Linked DNA regions of Homo sapiens: region 1 is linked to region 2. Evidence: promoter capture Hi-C in human tissues and cell types (Jung and others, 2019). All regions are on one chromosome and are shown on one strand. Each heading gives the region's core, a stretch centred on a gene start or on the middle of the fragment in contact. The rest is flanking DNA. Distances are from core to core; before and after follow the strand shown.

Evidence for each region. The method cuts DNA at HindIII sites, captures the fragments that hold promoters and counts their contacts. A contact is called where the count stands out against the background at its distance.
Region 1: a contact is called between a fragment that was not itself captured here and the fragment with the promoter of ITGB2 in region 2, in 5 of the 25 tissues and cell types used here (dorsolateral prefrontal cortex, lymphoblastoid cells, mesenchymal stem cells and 2 more).

What each region holds. Positions count from the first base shown.
Region 1 is chr21:44,850,266-44,853,565 of GRCh38, reverse strand. It overlaps PTTG1IP (PTTG1 interacting protein), which reads left to right. Exons shown (of 6, transcript NM_004339.4): 6 at 1,939-3,300. The coding sequence ends at 1,985. Among named protein-coding and RNA genes, the nearest start is that of PTTG1IP, 22 kb to the left of the region's middle. The HindIII fragment of the contact is 3,314 bases long and covers 11-3,300 here.
Region 2 is chr21:44,918,599-44,922,402 of GRCh38, reverse strand. ITGB2 (integrin subunit beta 2) reads left to right here and starts at 1,504. Exons shown (of 16, transcript NM_000211.5): 1 at 1,504-1,582. It overlaps ITGB2-AS1 (ITGB2 antisense RNA 1), which reads right to left and starts at 1,368. Exons shown (of 3, transcript NR_038316.1): 1 at 1,076-1,368. RefSeq lists a silencer at 2,854-2,913. The HindIII fragment of the contact is 46,650 bases long and covers 1-3,804 here.

The DNA.
Region 1 (3,300 bases), core at 418-2,917, 69 kb after region 2:
CTTGAAATGGAAGAGTCAAGAGCTTTTTGGCACCTAATTTTTTTTTTTTTTTTTTTTTGAGACGGAGTCTCACCTTGTCGCCCAGGCTGGAGTGCAGTGGCGCGATGTCAGCTCACTGCAAGCTCTGCCTCCCAGGTTCACACCATTCTTCTGCCTCAGCCTCCTGAGTAGCTGGGACTACAGGTGCCCACCACTACGCCCAGCTAATTTTTTGTATTTTTTAGTAGAGATGGGGTTTCACTGTGTTAGCCAGGATGGTCTCAATCTCCTGACCTCGTGATCCGCCCGCCTCGGCCTCCCAGAGTGCTGGGATTATAGGCATGAGCCACCACACCCAGCCAGACTAATGTTAATGTAAATAAAAGACAAGGTGGATACACACACACGCACACGCGCACACACGCACACACTGCCCAGCACCTGTTATCACCAAGCACAAGCTGTGTTTAAGTTGCTCGACCTTTACTGTGCCCTGACTCCCAGCGGGTGTGAGGCTGTGGGTGGCCGGCCAGGCTCTTGGAGTGGTGTCTTCTGTGTCAGGGCCCTGATTGACTTGCACTTGCCATTTTGGTGGTTAATTTGGCCCTTTAATTGCATTGATGAAATGAGCTTTTTGTGCCAGTTTGTAATAAAGCCATTGAATGGCCTGTGCTTTGGAAAGCCTCGGCTAGTTAGAAGAATTCCTAGGAATTCCTGATGGGAGAGTGCGAGAAAGCATGTGAGTCCACCTGGTGCAGTTATATAAAATACCAGCACGCACGCAAAAACCCTTCTTTTGGTTTTGGTTTTCCCTCTAAACTGGAAGTAGACTCAGGAGCGAGTTTTTCAATAAGAACTTAACCAGCCTCCTTGCTAGTATCTGATGACTCTTTCCCAAAACCGACTTTGAGCCTCACTCCCAAAGCCTGATGCCTGTGGCCCTCCTTGACAGGCAAGAAAGAAACATGGCTAGGCCCTTCCTTACCATCCCTCTGCTTCCCCGCCGCCTCTTCCACCCAGCCCCCAGAATACATGCAGTGAGTAGCTTTGTTGTAATCGCTGCAGATAATTTTAGTGTACAATACAGATTGTTAAAGGGAGAGAGAGGCCAGGCACGGTGGCTCACGCCTGTAATCCCAACACTTTGGGAGACCAAGGTGGTGGATCACCTGAGGTTGGGAGTTCGAGACCAGCCTGACCAACATGGTGAAACCCCGTCTCTACTAAAAATACAAAAATTAGCCAAGTATGGTGGTGGGTGCCTGCAGTCCTAGCTACCCGGAGGCTGAGGCAGGAGAATTCCTTGAACCCAGGAGGCGGAGATTGCAGTGAGCCGAGACTGCGCCATTGCACTCTATCCTGGGCAACAAGAGCAAAACTCTGTCTCAAAAAAAAATAAAAAATAAAGGGAGAGAGAGTGTGTGTATGTGTGTGTGTTTCTGCAGTGTGAAGGGAAAACTCCTGGTCTTTGGGTAAGTAGCACAGGTTTACTCTTATGATTAAATACACATTTTATCCCAGTTTTGTCAGAGTACTCGAGAGTTAGATTGATGGTCATCTTAGTTCTTTCTGTAGCCTTAATTCCAAAGGTTTAAGAGCAGCTATAAGCACAAAGTAAGGTTATTTTGTTTAATAGTAGCCATCCACTGTGGAACTAGCCAACCACTGTGGAAAGAAATACTTGCCTTAAATTTCTTTTCTTCGCCGAGCATCAGGAAGTAAGTGCTTATCTCTTAGGATCTGTTAGAGTTCTTGTTTCTAGTAAATTTTATTTCAGTTTTAAAGTTTAAAGTGGTTTGACTTCAAAAAAGGTTAAGCACTGTATGAGAGCCTGCTTACAATGCCCGTTGTTGCTATAGCCTCAGTAAATCTTCTTATAAAGCTTGGTTTGTATGGCTTTCTAAGATTTTGTTTCTGGTTGAATGAATGAAGTTATGATTCAAGTTTATTTTGTTTCAGGCCTGTTTAAAGAAGAAAACCCGTATGCTAGATTTGAAAACAACTAAAGCGCTCCAGCACATCAGTCCCGACGCTTCCTGTGAGGTGCACGCTCCGCAGCCCAGCCCAGCCGGGAGACCACGTGGCCATTGCGGTCTCCTGACCTTGGCCAGTGAACCTGCCAGCCTTCCAGGACAGGCGGCCGGAGAGCTGCCCCTGAAGGACAGTCCTCTCGTCTTGCAGACTGGTGACCTTCTATTCCCTGTTCATCTCTGTTTCTAGATTTAGTCACTTGAAATAAGAAATCTTTGGGGTTTGGGCTTTTTTATACTCTTCTCAGTTTGTGAAACGCTAACTGCACACGAAGCCGCCTGACGGCACCCAGCGCTGTGGCTGTCATTCTCCCAGGGCAGAACCCTGCGTTTCTCTCTGTCCACTAACAAGCTTCACACGCAACACAGGGAAGTCGGTTTGACTTTTGTCATGAGGAGAACTGACCAGCCCTCATCATTCCCCATAAAACCACGGACAGCGTCTGTGTGCGCATCTTGAGTCTTCACACCTGTTGACTCACACGGCTTTTGCTGATGACACGGGGCTCCAGTACACAGTCTGATAAGGACTTAACGTCCTAACCTCAATTGTATTAAATAGCATTGGGGAATAGCTAAACCTTTTTAAAAAAATTTATTGGATTTTCCTCCCTGCTTAAAAGATTTCACCAGAAAACCTTCATATAAAAATTCAGGCCCTTTTTGGACAATTTTTAAAATTTGTATCTTTACTAGAACATGAGAATCTTTTTCCCTTGGAAGCTTGAATTATAAATGTGGTGTTTGGCCTGCCTCAGCAGCACCAGTTGACTGCTCGTGTGCCAGCGGTGTGGGGAGGACGGGGCAGGACGCTGCAGCTCTCTCCAGCCCTGTTGGCATCCTCAGTGCCTGCAGGCCTCTCGCTGCCTGTTGGGCTGTCTGGGGGGTGGCCATTTAGGGATCGTGGGGACGGGGTCCACCCCAAGAAGAAAGAAAGGCCCGTCCACAGGCCCGGCTCTGGGCCACGTGCCCCGGAAGCAGGTGTGTCCAGAGTCAGCTGAGGGCTCTCCCCACACCACCCAGCAGGCGCTGGTGCTCCTTCTGCCTCATGGGACCAGTCCAGCTTCCAGCCGCTCTGGCTCGAGGGTGGTCTGACCACTTCCTTCTGAGTGGGCTTCTCTGGGAGCTCTCCAGTGGCACTGCTGGACCTGCCCACGTTTCTGTAAAATCAGGATACGTGGCTTTAGTAAGCAGACCAAGCGCTTCGTGGCAGGGAAAGCAGCGTGCGGGGAAGTCACTGAAAAGTGCTGCCTAAGGAAGTTTGGAAATAGTCCCTGTTCCAGATTGCCTT
Region 2 (3,804 bases), core at 255-2,754:
GTTTGAGCCACCATGCCCAAAATAAAGATTTGTCATATTTTTTTTCAGGTATATACATGCTATTTTTATTCTTAAGGAGACTCTTGAATTGTTAGCATATATACTTAGATATTTTCTATCAAAATGCCCACTGACAAGCATCTATATTCCTCCCCAGATAGGATGGAACGGCAATGTGCTCCCTGGCCCCTCCCAACCCAGTCCTCTAGGCGTTTTGTTTCACAGCGTTAATATTCTTACCACTATTTTTTAAATCAACAGGTTATGACATCATAATTTTTACTTATTTCTTTGCCCAACTTTGTATCATCTGCTCTTGTATTTCTCATGGATTTCTTCATGTCTATTTCTGCAAGACATCTTTAAAACAGAGTTTAGGAGCCGGGAGCCATGGCTCACGCCAGTAATCCCAGCACTTTGGAAGGCAGAGGTGGATGGATCACTTGAAGCCAGGAGTTCAAGACCAGCCTGGTCAACATAGTGAAACCCTGTCTCTACTAAGAATACAAAAATTACCCAGGCGTGGTGGTACATGTGCCTGTAATCCCAGCTACTTGGGAGGCTGAGGCAGGAGAATTGCTTGAACCCGGGAGGCAGAGGTTGCAGTGAGCTGAGATCACGCCACTGCACTCCAGCCTGGGTGACAAAAGCAAAACTCTGTCTCAAAAAAAACTGAAAACATAAAAATAAATAAATAAATAAAACAGAGTTTAGGGTAGTAATGTGTCTGAGTCCTTGCTCTGAAGATGTCTGATTTGGGTTTTTTTTCTAGGTATAATCTCTTTCCCTCCTCTTCCTCCTCCTCCTCCTCTCCCTTCTCTCTCTCTCTGAGCCTGTAGTATTTTCCCTTTCGTGTTCTGTGGTATCCTCCTAATGTCCCTAGTTAACAGGACCTCATCCATCCATCCCTGGGGTGTTCAGTGGCCTCGCAATCCACGTCCCCGCCCAGATCCGCAGCCTTCCTCCTGTGACCTGAGTGTCTCCTCCTCGCTGTCCCTGTTCTGTCCCCTCCCGCCCTCACATGCAGGTGGATGTCAATGCGTGCACGCACCCAGGTTTTCTTGCCTGTTCCCACCTCTTTATCCTCCTTGGCTGGTTCCTCCGCTCCATTCTCTGGCTCAGGAATTTGCTCCCCAGGGTTTTTCATTCCGCTCTGTAGCAGAATGTGCTACTGTTGCTTTCCAGCATCAAACTTTTCACTCCCATGGCCTCTGTGTTCTTCTTCCTAATGGGTGCCCTTTCTGCCTGGCGCTCCTGGAGGCCGGGCCCCTCTCCCAAGTGTGAATCTGATGGAAGCAGGTCCTTCTCGCCGGGACCTCATGTGAGAAATGACATGTCCCACCTGTCTCAAGGGGCCGCTCTCTGACATCAGAGCTGCTGTAGAGCGGAGAGGGGCAGGGGTGAAGGGCCACGGTGGTGCAACCCACCACTTCCTCCAAGGAGGAGCTGAGAGGAACAGGAAGTGTCAGGACTTTACGACCCGCGCCTCCAGCTGAGGTTTCTAGACGTGACCCAGGGCAGACTGGTAGCAAAGCCCCCACGCCCAGCCAGGAGCACCGCCGAGGACTCCAGCACACCGAGGGTGAGTGTGCAGAGGCCCCGCTATGTCCACGGTGATTTTTGGAGGGAAGCACTCTCCTGCCCCAGCCTGGAGTGACCCTGGTGGCCCTGCTTATAGCCCCGGCCCAGGGGTGTCTGGCAGGAAGGGGTCTCCAGACCGTCTGCTCCAGGGTCCCCTTTGAGACCCGGCAAGGGGAAGTGCCTGCCACCAAGAGCAGAGCCACATGGTGTGCTGGGAGCGCTTGCGGCTGAGGATGGGGCCGGCATGGGAGGACAAGGGGCTGTGAGGCCGGCAAGGCCAGGAAGAGGCTGGGCCCACAAGCCCCTAGGGGGACGGCTGGGGGGTCCTGGTGCTCCGGGCTGGGCAGGAGGCAGGTTCCCGGGGCCTCCTCTGTGAACCTGCTGCGCCTGCCTGTGTTAGGCCCTCCTGTCTGCATGCTGCCCCGCCTGGCTACAGCGATTCCATCTCCAGATCGACTCGCAGTGTGTGGTGTGTGATATGGTGTGGTGTGGTTCGTGGTGTGTAGTGTCGTGTGTGTAGTGTGGCATGGTGTGCATGTATGGTGCACGTGTGTGGCATAGCGTAGTGTGGTGTGTGTGTGTGCATGTATGGTGTGCGAGTGTGCGCATGTGATGTGGGGAGTCTGTTGTATGTACATGTATGGTGCACATGTGTAATGTAGTGTGGTGTGGTGTGGCACATGCTCCATGCTCCTCTGGGACCCTCGAGCTTCCCTGCCTCCTCCGTGGGGACCCCTGGGTGACGTCTTGCTGTAGGGGAGCGGGCACCGCTGTGCGATTCTGGTCGAGTTGGTTCAGCTGGTGACCCTGGCCTCCCCACAACAGGCTCCTGGAGGCCATTCCCAAGGTCCTGGTGGGAGGGGGATTGAAGCCACGCCCCTGGGTCCCAGGCCCACCTGGCCCCCTTCCCCCAACACTGCACTCTTGGGGCCAGCCCTCCCCATGCATCCTCCACCCCTGGCACCACCCCTTGCACCACCGTCCCCACACCCAATCCCCCCTCCCCTGGATCTGGGAGCTGGGATTCTGCCCTGCTGTCCCTGTCCATCCGGGGCCCCTCTCCTCTGTCAGTTCCTGGGTGGGGAGAAGGAGGGGTGGCATGGCTGCAATGGGGAAGGGGGGGGATGGCCGGAGAGCTCAGCCTGGGAGCGAGCTGTGGGGGCATAGGGGACACTCGCTGTCACTCGCCTTCCCCGTGACGGTGGCGCAACGCCTGCGGGTTTGGGGGCTGAGGCCGGATTCTGGAGGCTTCACAGAAATGAGCTGCTAGAAGCTCTGGGCTGTCTGCCGTCACCCCAGCGTTTCACCATGAGTGAAGCCCAGCTCACTGCAGAATCCATGCCCAGCTCACTGCAGAATCCCCGGGGGCCAGCACTTTACCAAGAGTGGCCTCCAGACTCCACATTTTAGGAAGGAACTCCTTCCCCATCCAGCTCACAGCAGAATCCCCAGGGTCCCTGCCAGCCTGGCACCCAGCGTGCCCCTCAGTATTCTGGGGATGAGTGGGGGAGTCCCTCTGCTGGGAAGAGGTCCCTGGCTACGTCCCTGCAGGGCGGCGGCTGAGCCCATGCCTCGGCCCCAGGGCCAGTCCCCGCCGGGTGCCATCCTGAGCAGGGCCACAGAACAGATGTCCCACATGGCCAGGACCCCTGTGGCCACCTGACCCCGGGGGGGCTGTGGCCCTCGGTGAAGCAGGTGACCGGGCGGGCTGTGGGGTTTGTCAGCTCCGCAGCGTCACTGCCGCTCAGCGTATGAGTTTCCACTCCCAGCACTCAATGAACAGCTGAGCAACTGCAGGTGCCTCCGAGTGCTGGGAGAGGGGAATGCTCAGCTCCGAGTGCTGGGAGAGGGGACGCTCAGCTCCGAGTGCTGGGAGAGGGGACGCTTAGCCACCCAAGGGCCTTTGCCTCAAGGGAGTAAATAGGGGCATTTCCTGGTGGGCGTGGGCTGGGCTGGAGAAGCAGGGCCTCCTGGCAGGGGCTGGCATGAGATCCAAACACTGCCCAGGCAGCTGGACACTCCTGAGCCTGGAGCTTCTCACCTGAACCACAGGGTGGTAACCCCTGCCCCTCAGGCGGCATCGACGTGACCTGCCTAGTGCACAGTGAGCCTGAGGCAACACGGCCACCACCAGGAGACTCCCTGGGGAAGAGGCCCCCAGACAGCGAGGTGCCCATGAAGGAAGTTCTGCACAGGGGCCGCGGCCATCCAGGAGATGGGAGG